Regions from separate parts of the Homo sapiens genome. Here region 2 is linked to region 1. The links are contacts of gene promoters, found by promoter capture Hi-C in human tissues and cell types (Jung and others, 2019). All regions are on one chromosome and are shown on one strand. The core of a region is centred on a gene start or on the middle of the fragment in contact, and the rest is flanking DNA. Distances in the headings are between cores, read along the strand shown.

Region 1 (3,326 bases), core at 430-2,929:
GCAGATGCACTCCCTGAGACTCCTGAGCCAGAATCCTCCATCTCAGATCTTCCAGAGCCTCAGCGGTAACAGCCGGCCCCTGCAGCCCTTGGCCCACAGGGCACTGAGGGGCAACAGGGACCCCCGGCACCCCGAGAGGCGCTGCCGAGGCCCCAACTACCGCCTGCATGGTATGGTCCAGTCTGCACCCCCTCTAAGTCTTGGGCTAACCCTCTTATATGTGTCTCCCCTTGGTGTCTCAGTGTGATTCAGTCCCATCCTCCTTCCTGCGTCTATATGGTCTAGCCTCGTGAGCTGTCTCTTTTTCTCTCTTTCCCTACATGTCTATGTGGTACAGTCCACCTGCCAGCCCTAGGCCATTGCTAGCCCACGATTTGTCTTTCCTCTTCACTGCTTTGTAACTTGGTCTATAACCCTTGACCCCTGCCTTCCTATGGTCCAATTACCTACTGTTCTGTGCTTCCTATTACTGTGAATTTCCAAAATGGTACAATTTGGATCCTCTCTCCCTTTCCAAGTCGTACTACCTTACGCTGTTCCACAATCTGATGCTCCCTTCCCCCTTACTGAGAATCTACAAGGTACAACCCCTTCCCTCCACCTCTGCCTCCCTGTGGTTTAGCCCAGGAATCTCACACACCCCCGGCTTCGCAACATGGTACAGTCCACACCCCCCCCCCCCCATGAAGACCTTCAAGTAGTTCAGCCTACTGCTGAATCTGGACGTCCCGATTCCCCCCTCCTATTGGCTTCTTGTGGTTCAGCCCAGTGCTTCTCGACCTAGTACATTCTGGTTCCCCGCTCGCAGACTTCCGACGGTAGGGCCCAGCGCGGCGCAGCCCACGCCCCCTGCACACCCCCCGCCCCTTCCATCCTATACTGACGCCCCCTGCCGTTGTTCTCTGTCTTACAGTGGATGGTGTCCCCCATGGTCGCTGAGACTCCCCTTCGAGGATTGCACCCGCCCGTCCTAAGCCTCCCCACAAGGCGAGGGGAGTTACCCCTAAAACAAAGCTATTAAAGGGACAGAATACTTCCTGTTTTCTCAGTGGTCTGATTCTAGGCGCGGTGGGGAAACATTTGGGTATTAAAGAACAGACTTCTTCCGGAAACCAATCTTCCTCTTTCTAAACCTCCGCTCTCGGTATTTTGGCTTCCTGCTTCTCAAAACCATCTTTAGGACCGCGGCCCCTTTAAGCGGCGCCCCTTTTCCCCCCATCACCCCCCTCGCCATCAGGCAGCACGAGCAGAGCCATGTGCTTCCCCCTCCCGCCTGCCTCATTGGCCCAAACTGGGTCACGGTCCCGCCCCCCAGTACCGCCTCCCATTGGGCAAATGTAGGTCAGTGTCCCGCCTCCCACCGAAAGGCAAGGCAACTTCACGCGCTGAGCCCCTCACGCGCCCTCCTGGGCCCTGGCGGACCCAGAGGCCCCATTGGCTGTGCGTCTCAAGGTGTCGGAGACGATTGGTCCGTGTTTGCAGCCGGAGGGAGGCACGCGGCTGGGTTGCATGCCCATAGAGGCTGGCGGGGCTGGACGCGCCGGGCGGGGACCCGGAGGAGGGGCGCGCGCTGTGGCGTCGGGTGTTTTGGTTTGGATTTTTTTTTCCGCGAAAGAAGTTTGCTTTGGCCACGCCTCAAGGCGGCCGCCTCCTCCTGCCCCCTCCTCCGCCCCTCCGCGCACACCTCTCGGTGCAGATTGCAAAGCGCCTTCCGTTGCGAGAGCTGCAGATTTTGCAAGAGCCAGGCTCGCCCACCTTGTAGAAGGAGCGCCTTGAGTCCCCTCTCACCCTCGGTTGCAAAGAGCCGACCGCTTGATCTGGACACCCCCTCGCCCAGATTGCATGATCTCCCGGGACCCTCTTGAGTTGCACGTTTCTGCACCGAGGACCTCAAATCCCCGTCGCTCCTAGGATTTGCAGCGTTCTGGATACTGGAGGGTTGCAGGCTACACTCGCCCGCCCCTGGGCAGACACTCGTCCAAACCACTGGAGTGTGCTGGTGACTGGCAGGCCAGCCCTTCGCCTCTCCATGAACCCGTGAGCCTGGGGGCAGGTGCCAGGCGATGGCGCGGCCTGTGAGCGACAGGACCCCGGCCCCTCTGCTGCTGGGCGGCCCGGCCGGGACACCCCCTGGCGGGGGAGCGCTGCTTGGGTTGCGGAGCCTTCTGCAGGGGACCAGCAAGCCCAAAGAGCCGGCCAGCTGTGAGTTCTAACCCCCATCTCACCCACTTCGGACACCCTACCCCCTTAGGGACTCAGGTGCCGTGGGGTGGGGTCCCATAGAAACCTGCGTGCGGGGAGTCCATCTTCCCAACCTTAATCTACTCAATTACTCAGGTGTTTAGGCCCCTAGATCCCTTAGCGCCCAGGACCCAAAAGCGCCGGCTCTGAAGCCCGTCCACCCTAAGGACCCAGGCACCAACGTCCCCAACGTCCTCCCCGCTTAGTTCACAAGAGTGTAGGCCCCAGCCTCCTCTTCCTTTTGGTCCGGGAGTCTGGACCCCTGGGGTCCCAGGGAGGGGGTGTGTCGGGTGCTCACACGGTGGTGACACGGGCTTGGGCGGGGCGTCATGGGGTCACATGGAGTCTAGGGATGAGGGATGTGCCCCAGGAATAGAGCCCCTTCCTGCCCCTTACAGATGGTGGGGGAGGGGAAGGGGGTACAGCGCGCAGGGGATGGGGGTTGGGTAATTACAGTGAAATTACAGAGCTGTCATTTTTTCTCTCACCTGCCCAACCCTCCACCTACCCTGTCCCTGCCCCCCTATTCCTGAACTTCCGTCTCTCTTTCTCTGGTTCGCTGTCTTTCTGTGTGTCTATTCCTTCCCGGCATTCTGTCCCCATCTCTGTGAATCTGTCCACCTGTCTCTGCCACCCCCGTCTCCATTCTTTCTGGGTCTCTCTCCCACTCTGCGTCTCCGTCCCTTTTTCTCCCGTCTCTCCTCTCCGACCCCCCGTCCCCTCTTTCTCTGGATCTCCGCCCTGTGCCTCTCGGACTCGGGGTCTCTTCTCCATCTCTATCTCCCCCACCTCACCCTCATCCCAACCCGTCTTTCCCGGCCCGCAGGTCTCCTGAAGGAAAAGGAGCGCAAGGCGGCCCTGCCTGCAGCCACAACCCCTGGGCCAGGCCTGGAGACTGCGGGCCCGGCGGATGCCCCGGCTGGGGCAGTGGTGGGCGGAGGGTCCCCGCGGGGGCGCCCGGGGCCGGTGCCCGCCCCGGGTCTGTTGGCGCCACTGCTGTGGGAGCGCACGCTGCCGTTCGGCGATGTGGAGTACGTAGACCTGGACGCCTTCCTGCTGGAGCACGGGCTCCCGCCCAGCCCGCC
Region 2 (3,326 bases), core at 256-2,755, 300 kb after region 1:
GTATGGGTGGGGGCGCACCCCGAACTGAGCCCACGGGGCGCTGTCCCGCCTGCAGATGTTCGGGCAGCGGCGCAGCGCGCAGGCGTTGGAGCTGGCGCACATGCTGTACTATCGCAGTACGTCCAACAACTCGGAGCTGCTCAGCGCCCTGGCCCTGCGCGCGCAGGACGAGCACACCAAGGAGGCGCTGCTGGCTCACAGCTTCCTGGCCCGGCGGCCAGGGGGCACTCAAGGCTCGCCCGAAGGTAGGACGTGGCCCTGGGACCCTGCCCCCAGGGGCCACACCCCCGCGAGGCCCCGCCCCAGCGAGATGCGTCCCCACCCCCAGTTCCCACGGGTGAACCTGACGGGTTTGCGAAGAGACCCCGGCCCTCAGCAGACAGGACCTCCGAATCCAGACTCCGATCTTGGTGCCTGATGTGACAGCCCTTTCTTAACCTCAGCCTGGTTGGGAGTCTTGGCTCCATGGCACGGCCCCCTCCTGTCATTCTTTCCTCTACCTGAGCTGACACTCTCCCTACAAGAGATCCTGCGCGCTCCCTGTGTGGGCTCCAGGTGGTCCCCTTGCCTACAGGAGCCCCCACCTTCCCTGCCCAAGAGCCCCTGACTGGTCCCCAGACGAAAGCCCCAGAGCTGGGCCTTCTGGCCCTCTCGACCCTCCTGGGCCTTGTTCCGCTCCCCTCCAAGCCTCAAGATCACTCCTAGGCTTCTCCCAAACCCAGGCCCTTCCTGTTCTTTGCCCTACGCCCCTCCTTGCTGCTCCCTCGAATCTTCCCCGATCTCAGTGTGACCTCAGAACACCTGCCTCTCCCCTTGCAGAGACCTCCAGGTGGCTCCGGTCGGAGGTGGAGAACTGGCTCCTAGCCAAGTCAGGCTGTGAGGTGACCTTCAACGGAACTCGGGCCCTGGCGCATCTGCAGGCCCTGACCCCCAGCATGGGATTGTACCCACCCCCGGGTTTCCCCAAACTAGACCCAGTGGCTCCGATCACTTCCGAGCCCCCGCAAGCCACGCCCAGCAGTAACATCTCCTGAGTAGAACCTACCTCCCTGCCCAGTCAGCAGGCTAGGAACTAAGCCCCGCCTCCTTCACGACAGGCTGTCAATTACGGTTATTATACTTTTCACTCCAACTTCCAATAACTGACAGGTGATTATTTTTGCTGCACTGTGTGCTTAAGCAAAGCAGCCAATCAAAGCAGCTAGCAGTTGTTAAGTCTTCCCCGCCCCTTCGATGAACAGCCAATCAAAGCGATTTAGCTCTGCTTCTGTTCCATTTCTTAGTCCCACCCTCACCATAAACATCCAAGTGTGGTTTGGCTGAGGAGCTGAGGGTGTCTGCCAATCACAGCTGCTCAGCTCTGGCTTCTGTAAACCGCCAGGTAGAAGAGTTAAAGCTGCGCCCTCCCGAGACTATATATCATTGTCTTTTTCAGCCCGCTCCGGGCAAACTGCCCATCATGTGCACCAAGGCCGTTAGCCCTGCCTCCTGGCAAACGTCCAGTGACAGCTGCTGGGTTCCATCAACTTTGGGCAGCCGGTTGTCGCTGCAGGGAAGGAACCAATAAGAATTTCTAAAGGAAACCTGATCTTGCTATCAATTGCTGCTGCTTAAATGGCAGGCCAACTGGTCAGCTGCTGATCAGGGTGTCTAGGCTGAAGGAGTTGGAGACCTTGTGCTAGGTAGGTGAACCAGAAACCACCCTCGCCACCAAGACTCGCTCCCAACCTGGCTCCCGGCAACCTCAGGTGCCTTCCTCGCCCAGGTCTTTCACCCTTTCTACAGAAACTACCTCGGTCTGGATCTCCCCACCACCAGCAGCCTGTGCAATATTTATTGGTCTATCAATTTCTCCCGTCTCCTGTCCCAAAGTAATAAATCATGTTTAATAAGTCTGGATGAGGCTACTCTTAACGCACTGCCTTTAGGGTAACCCTGCTCTGTAGGAGTGGTTAAAAAATTATTTTTAAAAATCTAGATGAGTGGGATGGCTGCAGGAGTTGGAGGGAAGGAAAGCATTTGAATCCTGGAAAGAGGGGAGGGACTCTAGCTAGGTCTTGGGGTCCCAGACAGAGAAAGCTGTAGTCCTAAAAAGAGGCTGGGTTCATGGTCGGTGAAACAAAGACAGTCATAGAAGAGGATCTTAGAAGGATCTGATTCCAGAGGAGTCCCAGGGCCTGATGAACAGAGGAGATAGCGTAGCCATGTGCGATTGTGCAGATTTGCAGATTTTTTTTTGTTCTTGAGATGGAGTTTCGCGCTTGTTGCCCAGGCTGGAATGCAATGGCATGATCTTGGCTCACTGCAACCTCCGCCTCCTGGGTTCAAGTGATTCTCCTGCCTCAGCCTCCCGAGTAGCTGGGAGGCGCCTGCCACCGCGCCTGGCTAATTTTTTGTATTTTCAGTAGAGACGGGGTTTCACCATGTTGGCCAGGCTGGTCTCGAACTCCTGACCTCAGGTGATCCACCTGCCTCAGCCTCCCAAAGTACTGGGATTACAGGCGTGAGCCACCGCACCCGGCCTGTGCAGATTGTTAACTGCACAAAGGAACACAGCCACGGGTGGGTGGCTGTAAGACCCAGCCCATACCCCTACATGTATCCTGGTGTGGGGCTGGGTCAGCCAGAAGAAGGGGTGCCTCCTAATTTTTGCTAACGTGTCATATGGGCTAGAGGCAGCCTTTGGGGAGACAGGGGAAGTCTCCCTCTCTAGGACCCCAAATGTTCAGTCCCTAGAGAGGGAGACTGGGCTGGGCGCGGTGGCTCCCGCCTGTAATCCCAGCACTTTGGGAGGCTGAGGTGGGTGGATCACCTGAGGTCAGGAGTTCAAGACCAGCCTGGCCAACATGGTGAAACCCCGTGTCTACTAAAGATACAAAAATTAGCCGGACGTGGTGGTGGGCGCCTGTAATCCCAGCTGCTCAGGAGGCTGAGGCAGGAGAATTGCTTGAACCCGGGAGGCGGAGGTTGCAGTGAGTGAAGATCGCACCACTGCACTACAGCCTAGGTGACAGAGCGAGACTCCGTCTCAAAAAAAAAAAAAAAAAAAAAAAAGAGAGAGAGGGAGACTGGTTTCCTAGAGGGAAAAAGAAAGCTGTCTTCCCAAATGGAAAGTTAGTAGAAAGAAAAAAGAGTCCAGAACTAGCCGGGTGTGGTGGCTCGTGCCTGTAGTCCCAGCTACTCGGGAGGCTGAGGCAGGAGAATCGCTTCAACCCGGGAGGCGGAGGTTGCAGTGAGCTGAGATCGTACCACTGCACTCCAACCTGGACAGAAAGAAAAAAAGAGTCCGACAATCTAGAAACACACACTATGCCCGGGGTTCAGAG

Evidence for each region. Contacts are between HindIII fragments. The study calls those that stand out against the background at their distance.
Region 2: a fragment that was not itself captured here is called in contact with the fragment with the promoter of DBP in region 1 in 1 of the 25 tissues and cell types used here (dorsolateral prefrontal cortex).

What each region holds. Positions count from the first base shown.
Region 1 is chr19:48,635,732-48,639,057 of GRCh38, reverse strand. DBP (D-box binding PAR bZIP transcription factor) reads left to right here and starts at 1,679. Exons shown (of 4, transcript NM_001352.5): 1 at 1,679-2,202; 2 at 3,068-3,326. The coding sequence starts at 2,064. It overlaps CA11 (carbonic anhydrase 11), which reads left to right. Exons shown (of 9, transcript NM_001217.5): 8 at 5-170; 9 at 914-1,112. The coding sequence ends at 939. It also overlaps the pseudogene SEC1P. RefSeq lists an enhancer at 462-631 and silencers at 1,242-1,461, 1,632-1,741, 1,972-2,091, 3,128-3,187, 3,308-3,326. The HindIII fragment of the contact is 3,626 bases long and covers 754-3,326 here.
Region 2 is chr19:48,330,927-48,334,252 of GRCh38, reverse strand. It overlaps TMEM143 (transmembrane protein 143), which reads left to right. Exons shown (of 8, transcript NM_018273.4): 7 at 56-245; 8 at 820-1,897. The coding sequence ends at 1,034. Among named protein-coding and RNA genes, the nearest start is that of EMP3, 7.0 kb to the right of the region's middle. RefSeq lists a silencer at 1-379 and enhancers at 720-769, 780-869, 260-995. The HindIII fragment of the contact is 4,580 bases long and covers 1-3,326 here.